Regions from separate parts of the Homo sapiens genome. Here region 1 is linked to region 2. Evidence: promoter capture Hi-C in 16 types of primary human blood cells and fetal thymus (Javierre and others, 2016). All regions are on one chromosome and are shown on one strand. The core of a region is centred on a gene start or on the middle of the fragment in contact, and the rest is flanking DNA. Distances in the headings are between cores, read along the strand shown. Region 1 has its middle 29 kb from the start of LINC00113. Region 2 holds the start of ADAMTS5 (ADAM metallopeptidase with thrombospondin type 1 motif 5).

Region 1 (3,942 bases), core at 372-2,871, 730 kb after region 2:
CTCTTATTAAGGAATAAAGAGTTCATAAAACTTTCTCATCAGTGCTAATTTGTTACCAATAAATAACTTAATGAAGTGGATAAATATTATTTAAATTTTGTTATATCCCACCTACAAAGGTAGTAAGACTAAAAACGTGATGCTTCTCCTTTATTTCTAGCCATTGTAATTTTTTCAAAATTTTTCAACAAATAATTATGTTTTAATTTCCTATTGCTTTTAAAAATCAATCCAAAAAGATTAGACTGGCTCAATTATATGAATACCACCTTCATTCCAGCAACTTGTAGGGTTAGCAATAAGACTCACTACAGGTGTAATCTATGACCTAGTAATTTAATATACATTTTGGACAATCACGCAGAGGTGTCACTTACCTTTACGAGCACATTAATTGGGCATATAGAAAAAGCTGTAAAATAAACAGCTTTTCATTGTTTTTACTTGCCAGTTTTTTTTCAGAATTTTCCAGTATATAATTTCTGATTGAGTAATTACATTTTTCTTTCATGTCCATGTCACCAGGGGCTCCAGTGAATCCATGCTGGAGCTTCAGTTTGCTCTCCTGGGCGTTGTCTTTAGGCATAAAGTAACCTGAGTAGATTACCGAGGCAGAAAATGGTCCTGATGTTGGCTTTCTCTCTGCCTCTTGTCTGTACAAATAATTTCTCTTCTGTCTAAGCAGTTTAGCACACATGTAGCTCTCTATTCTATTGCTCCACTAAAGTTGCAGCACTTTGCATGTGAGTGTGTATGATGATGCTGGGGAAAATGAGGAGAGGCATGCTATTCTGAAATAACGTTTCAATAGAAATAAGGTATCCTAATGAGAAAGGAAGGATTCATAAATCCTTCATGACTTTAAAAGCTTATTGCTTTTAAAAATCAATCCAAAAGGATTAGACTGGCTCAATTACATGAATACCACCCTCATTCCAGAAACTTGTAAATGTAGCAGTAAGACCTACTGCAGAAGTAATGCTGATAAAGAAAGTATCCTAATGGGAAAGGAAGGATTCATATGGCTACCTTGTGAACAGGTGCCTACTTTGATTTCCTTCAAAGTGCAAAAATCAGGAACTCACCGTTTAGAAGTCTGGCTTCAAACTATTCCCCTTTTAGATAAGTAAAAGTCACAAAATCATAAAAATATGACAATAGACCACAGTTATGTAATTTTCATATACATATTCATCCCTCAAAGAGACCGTAATTAACCTTTTAGCTCTTCTTTCTCTGACCATAGAGAGATAACAATGTTTTATTTTATCATTGTCTACCAGCAGTTTAATATTTCCATTGTCCCATAGGTCTGTTACCATCCAACCATCCCCATCACTTGTTCCTTTATACCGCTACAGCTGAGACCGCTGCTAGCCTTTCTCGCCTGGAGCAATAACTAACATTTGGTGGCCTTCCAATGCTCTTCCCTGGCCCACTATTTGTCAGCCAGTTTTCCTTACTAGGAGAACTGGGCAGACCTTATTGGAGATAGTGAGAACAGCAGAGAGAAAACCTTTCGAATAAAATTAGACAATTGATTCTGCTTCTTTAAGTCTTTTGGAGTACTTTGCTTTTTTCTTTCTTCTACAGATGCCTAAGGGAGAAAAAAAAAGGGAAAGCCCGAAAGAAATCTCTGGTTAACTGGAGAATCCAGGAAATATGTGTCATTTCGAAACTCAATTTCACATCAGACCAAGGGTTGGTAGTGACACATCCTGCTAATAAAACCATCCAGACAAGTCCTCACAAGCTAGTAGTGTGTTTTTTGATTTCTGCGGTGACCTCACTTAGAGGAGATGCCGTTGGTTTGGTGGATATTACTGAAAATGAACAGGGGACACTTATGTACCCGAAGAAGTGAAAACAAAAACATTCTGATGAAACTGTTTTGAATTTTTTGTGCCTAAATTTTCAACTAATTTTTTTCTACCATGATCAACTTGAGGAATCCTGTTCCTTTGATATCAGTTAGTGTTACGAAGGCATCGAATTCACTGGAGTACAGGAAAGGGTTATTGTCATTGTTTGTAGGTGTTGGGGGATGGGTATGCTGCTGGGGGACATGAGAGTTCAGAGATATTGCAAAAAACAGAAATTATATTTAATAACACAAAAGGTATTAGTCTCTAAAATAAAAATAAAGACATAGACTATACTTTTATAATTATATTAATTCATATTTTATAAACTAACTTGGTAGTTCTATTTTTTAACTGAGTTAATGACATTTTAAAACACTTTTTTGTGAAAAAAATAATTTTGTTTGAATTATCAGCAGTTTCTAGATGTGAGGATTTGATTTTAATTTACTTATCAATATTTATGAAGTTAGAAATATTGAAAGAAAAGTGTGAAAATAATTAGACTAACAAAAGCTTAAACATCAAACAAAAGTTAAAAAATGAAGTTATTTCTGACAACTACGTGATTAACATACAACTGCTGAATTATGTAAATTATATTGCAAATATTTTAATTTATTTAATAATTCTCATGACATGCTGATTGCCTACATATTTGTGTTCATATAACAACCACATTTATTCACTACTTTTTAAAAGCATATTATATAATGTTTTTATAATTTTAATAGAAGGAGTGTTAAAATAACACTTCAATCACATCTTCCTCTTATACAGATAAAATGGCACTTTTTTAAATAAAAATGCGTCATTAAATCATTTTTTCCACCCAAAGAACACAAATAGCAAATATCTCAATTATAAAGAAAAAAAGTCTTCTGAGATCTTTCCCGATTTAGAAGTCTACTATTCTGAATTGGCTAAAATAAAAGCAATGACTTTACATAGTTGAACCCACTCCCCCCCTTAAAACTGAAATGTGTTAAGAGAGTGGTGAATAAAAATAACTGAGCTGACAGATTACATCATCTAATTTACACCCACACAACCACTAGCTCCTTTATTTCAAATAAAGCTCCTTTGAGTCTTGATGGTAGAGTCACATAATCTCAGGTCTGCACGGCATTCCCATTTACGGTGTTTCTCCACCAGGGAAAATTGGTGAAACTCAAAGTTCCCAGGATGATGCTGGGAAGAACTTAGAGATAAAACATGCACTGCCTAAGAGGAGTGGAATGTGAATGGAGATGAGGCTGTAGACCTAGGCAGGGATCCGACCTAAGGACCCCGGTGTCAGGCAAAGATTCTATCCTGCAGAAACTGAGAATCATCAGAGAATTTTACCCAGAAGAGAAACACAATAACATGTGCCCTTTATAAACCTCATTCCAAGCAAGAGTGACACACATTAATACCTCTAACAGACTATTTATTTAAAGAAATTTTTAAGAAAAATAAAATAACTTTAAAACCAGAAAATTTTTATGAAGCTCTCGTCCGTCCTTCCTTCCTTCCTTCCTTCCTCCCTCCCTCCCTTCCTTCCTCTCTCTTTCCTTTCCTTTTCTTTCTTTCTCTTTTCCTTCCTTCCTTCCTTCTTGCTTTCTTGCTTTCTTGTCTTTCTCTCCTTCCTTCCTTCCTTCCTCCCTCCCTCCCTTCCTCTCTCCCTCCCTCCCTTCCTCTCTCTTTTTTTTCTTTCTTTCTTTCTCTTTTCCTTCCTTCTTTCCTTCTTGCTTTCTTGTCTTTCTTTCTTGCCTGCCTTCCTCTCTCCCTCTTTCTTTCTTTCTTTTCTTTCTTTCCCTTTCTTTTTCCTTTCTTCTCTTTCTCTCCTTCTCCTCTCCTTCTCTCGCTCTTCCTTTCCTGTTCTTTCTTTCTTTGCTTTCTCTCTCTTTCTCTTCTTCCCCAAAGTTACAATTGTGATTGTAGACACCTTAAAATTTCCAACTGAAAATCTTGTATTTTTTTTAGCTACTTAGTTTTGAAAGCCATAAAGCATTTTTCTTTCTAATCAATTTATTGAATATATATTAACACATTGAAAATATATCTTTGGCCTATTATTGCTTAACCATATAGAAAT
Region 2 (3,914 bases), core at 757-3,256:
AGTCTTGGCATTTAAGGCAAAAATTTCTGCGGGGCTAACGTGAATACAGGAGCAGAGTTGAAGGCTGGTTGGATTTCCTGCAAGAAGCAGTTAAACACATCCACAGCTGCAGGAGGTTTGAGGGAGAAGCAAAGCCACCAGCAAGATTCCCTTCTACCTACCTCCTGATATCAGCGCTGGGACCCCCGCATCCCGGCTGGACCTACCTCCCGAGTAAACAGGATAGCTGCATCGTAGTGCTCCTCATGGTCATCTCCCAGCTGGTTGTGTTGGTGCTGCCACTTGCAAAAGTTCTTGAGTGTGGTGGCAGCGTTCTTGCTCACTTCCAGGCTCTTGTCCTTGTCGCCTAGCACCACCACCTTCACCACGGCCAGGCGGATGTGGTTCTCGATGCTAGCATGGCTGTACAGCCTATTGGCGATGGAGGCCAGGGTCAGCAGGTAATGCTGCAGGCCCCGGCCATACAACCGCGCCATGGACGCGTCAGCCACCAGAAGCAGCTCCACCTGGCGGGCCCGGGAGATGGAGCGGCGCCGCCGCCGCCACCACGTCTGCGGTCCTGAGCCCCCAGCGGGCGAGAGAGCGGACTGGTCCAAGAGCTGCGAGGCCAGTGCTGCGCGTCCGCTCGGGTTGCTGTGCGCCGGAGCATGCTCGTGGGCCTCCGGTGTGGACGCGGGGGTTTCGCAGCTGGCGCGCGGCGGCAGGGCCTCGAAGCTGAAGCCCTCGCGGGTGTAGACGTGCAGGATCCGTGCGGACCCATCCCCGTACACGCGCCCCTTTTCTTCCTCCGCCCAGGGTCCGCGCAGCAGTGGCTTTAGGGTGTAGCGCGCGTGCTTGACCGCGAAGAAGCCGTCGAGACCCCCACAGAGGTCAAAGACAGCCAGAGAGCGGGGACTACCGTCCACTGTGCCCCGATAGAAGCAGTGGCTCCGGTGGCGCCAGGGCGCACTCGTCCCGCCTCCTGCGGGCACGAAGCCAGCAATGCCCACCGAACCATCTCGCTCCAGGTCCAAGAGGAACCTCCGGCCGCCCGCGTAGACGAGGTAGCCCACCTTGCCGCCGCCGGAGTAGAGTTGGTCGATGTTCTGCACCAGCCCCTTGCTCCTGCGCCGCTGCGCCAGGGGGTGCGGGTGGCCGGGAGGCTCGGCTCGCTCCTGCACCTCCTCCCCCTGCCGCCGGCGGGGCTGGGCGGCTGCTGCAGCAGTCGGAGGCTGCCCGGCTTTATCCTGGGCAGGTGTCGCGGCGGGGCCGACCGCGGCCAGGGGCAGGCGGAACGCGCACAGCAGCAGGGACGCCCACCCGAGCAGCATAGTGCGCTGCCCGCGGGGAGGGGCTGCGCGACTGGGACTTTATGGGTATTTGTTATTTGCTATGAAGTTAACGGGGCGGGGGATGGGGACACACACACACTTGCTTGCAGGATTGAGTCAAGTGTCGGAGGGAGGGGGGCCCGGCAGCAGCGCCAGCCTGTCCGGGCTGCGGTGCCAGCGTGCGAACTTTTCTTTGTTGCTTGGGAAAATGTTTGGATTCGTGCTCCAGAAAGAGGTGGGGTGGGGGGGGGGGGAAAGAAAAGATTAAAAAAAAAAAGTCGGATAGTGGAGATTCAGCAAATACGGGAAAAGGAAAAAAACAAAAACCAAAAAACCACCAAATGCAGGCACGATCGCTGTTTCAAGAAAAGTAAGGAAAGGTACCGCGCACCGGGCTGGCAACTGGTGCGCGCAGCCTCCCGCCCCCGCGCTGCGCTGGACAAGCCGGCTGTGGAGGTTCCAAGCTCCGGGGCCCACTTCCTTTCTTATTTTGTGGGTTTCCTTGGCTCTGCTGGGACCAGGAGGAAGGGAAGAAAGAGAGGGGAAAAAGCCGTAAAAATTAAAACAAAAATGCAGGGGGGCAGCCTGAGGCGAGCTGGTGAAGCGGCGTGTCTGTGTCCCTTCGGCTGCGGTCTCCTCCTGCCCGCCGTCATCCCCAGTCGGCAGCTGCGAGCGCCGAGAGCAGCGCGAGCGCTGTGAAGATGCGAGGAGGTGGAACAATGAATTTATAGCGGCATGCCATCCTGCAATGGCAATTTCAACAGTTCGTCACTGCACGCTGCCTCTTAAAGGGAGAGCTTCCCCCACCACTCCCACCCTTCCCAGTCCGCGCCTAATCAGATGGGGGAGGGCAAAAGAGGAGGGTGATCGAGGAAAGGGAGACGAAGTAGGAGGAAGGGACTGGGACCCGGCGAGGTGGTAGGAGGGGAGAGGGGAAAATAAAAAGTAATGGGGCAAGAAAAACAGATTTCCTTGGCCACTTTTAAAGCCACAGCGGCTCCGGGTCTGTCTGATATTTCACAACCAATTGGGGTTGGCTAACCTTGGCTTACCTCATCTCCTGAACGGGTGTTTTGGTTAAAGTTATTGAGACGTTTCAAGTCTCTCCCTGCCTCCTTCTTGCCTGCTTTTCTCGCCCTCGGTGGGAAGTTCCTGCCGCAAGTTTTTCCCCTTTGCACACCCGTGCGCTCTGGCCTCGCAGACCGTGCAACTCCATCCACCAGCCAGAGCTTTTCAGCTTCCCGTGCGTCCCCTAACCACCGCGTTCCCTTCGCTTCCTCCCCTCCGTCCCGGCACCCGGTTTCCTCCCTCCCCATTCTCCAGCCTCTTGATGCTTTGACGCTCGCCGGATTCGGGCTCCGGGTGACTAACTTCTCCCGGCCACCAGCAGAGCGGCTGGACAGCCAGAGAGCCCAGGGCGCTTCCTGGCGCGCTGCGGTACCCCGGGGCGAGAACGCCCGCCGCTTGGGAACTCCGCAGCTTTGTGTGCGAACGGCGGGCTCCCAGCTTTCTCCAGCACGCCTTTCGTCAGGGTCCACAATCTGTCCCTTACTCCCAGCCCACTGGAACTTCCTTTGCTCTAAAAAGGCAGAGCGAGAAAGAGTTAACTCTTAGAGGGAATTCCGCTCATTTTTTTTCCCTGAAAGATTTTAAAATTTTGCGCTCATACTTTTATTTTTTGCTTAAATGATACTTTAATAATAAATTCCTATATCTGTTTTTGTCTCTTCTAAAGCAACCACTTATCGCCATAGGCCTTGACCTACCTTCATTCTCAGAAATTCCTTTTAGAAGAAAAAGAATACTTTTGGCGGAAGGAAGATTGGTGCTTATTAGTACGCGGGTGACATTATCACTGCTACTCGTTTCCTCTGACCTCTTTGTTTCCTCTAATTATCATTCTAAGAAGGGAGAAGGAAAACCCGACGACTTATGGTTAGAAGGTCTACCTTCTACTGTAGGGGTAAGAGCTCCCTCCATGCCCAAATTATTCTTCAGGCTAATTAACTAATGCACCAGTGAAAAATGAATGTGGTGTAATTTGTACATTTCCATCTTTTTCTACGTTTAACTTTGGCTACGCTGGGGATAGCAGGGCGGGTGCCTTAATGGGGCCCCAAGCTGATCGCTTTCTCTGGGAGGGAACCATGAGGGTCCAGAGCTTGATGGAGGTTCTTAGAGTGGCAATAATCCTCTGGAAGGAATTTCAGAATTGCCCGGCAACAATACCCATTGCCGTGTGCCTGGGAACACCCTCTGGAGTCTTGTGAGGGGCAGATGTATCATCTTGTTTTAACTTATAAATAAAGAAATCACTGGGGCCTTAGGGACACCCAACAGCCCCTGATAGATTCTGAAATACATCAGGACCAGGGAGGAAGTTACTATTGCTGAAGGCCATTGCTTTATAATTCCACAATGCCTCAGCCTCTCAGTGGCCAGTTGACCCAGGCCAATGCTAACAGCTGGATGGGTCAGAATAGGAGGTTCCAGCCATTTTCTCTATCCCACCAAGGCCTTTGAGCCTTGCATTAGCCGTTCTCTTTTGTGGTCCTTGCTTTGCACCTACAAATAGCAAACTTTTATCTTTTTAACCAGTTACAG

What was found. The method cuts DNA at HindIII sites, captures the fragments that hold promoters and counts their contacts. A CHiCAGO score of 5 or more calls a contact.
Region 1: a fragment that was not itself captured here is called in contact with the fragment with the promoter of ADAMTS5 in region 2 in 1 of 17 cell types (endothelial precursors); the score reaches 5.8 in endothelial precursors.

What each region holds. Positions count from the first base shown.
Region 1 is chr21:27,691,869-27,695,810 of GRCh38, forward strand. No RefSeq gene overlaps it. Among named protein-coding and RNA genes, the nearest start is that of LINC00113, 29 kb to the right of the region's middle. The HindIII fragment of the contact is 1,510 bases long and covers 867-2,376 here.
Region 2 is chr21:26,965,082-26,968,995 of GRCh38, forward strand. ADAMTS5 (ADAM metallopeptidase with thrombospondin type 1 motif 5) reads right to left here and starts at 2,007. Exons shown (of 8, transcript NM_007038.5): 1 at 207-2,007. The coding sequence starts at 1,310. LOC124905050 reads right to left here. Exons shown (of 3, transcript XM_047441063.1): 2 at 2,363-2,889; 3 at 1,575-2,003. The coding sequence ends at 1,575. The HindIII fragment of the contact is 6,499 bases long and covers 1-3,914 here.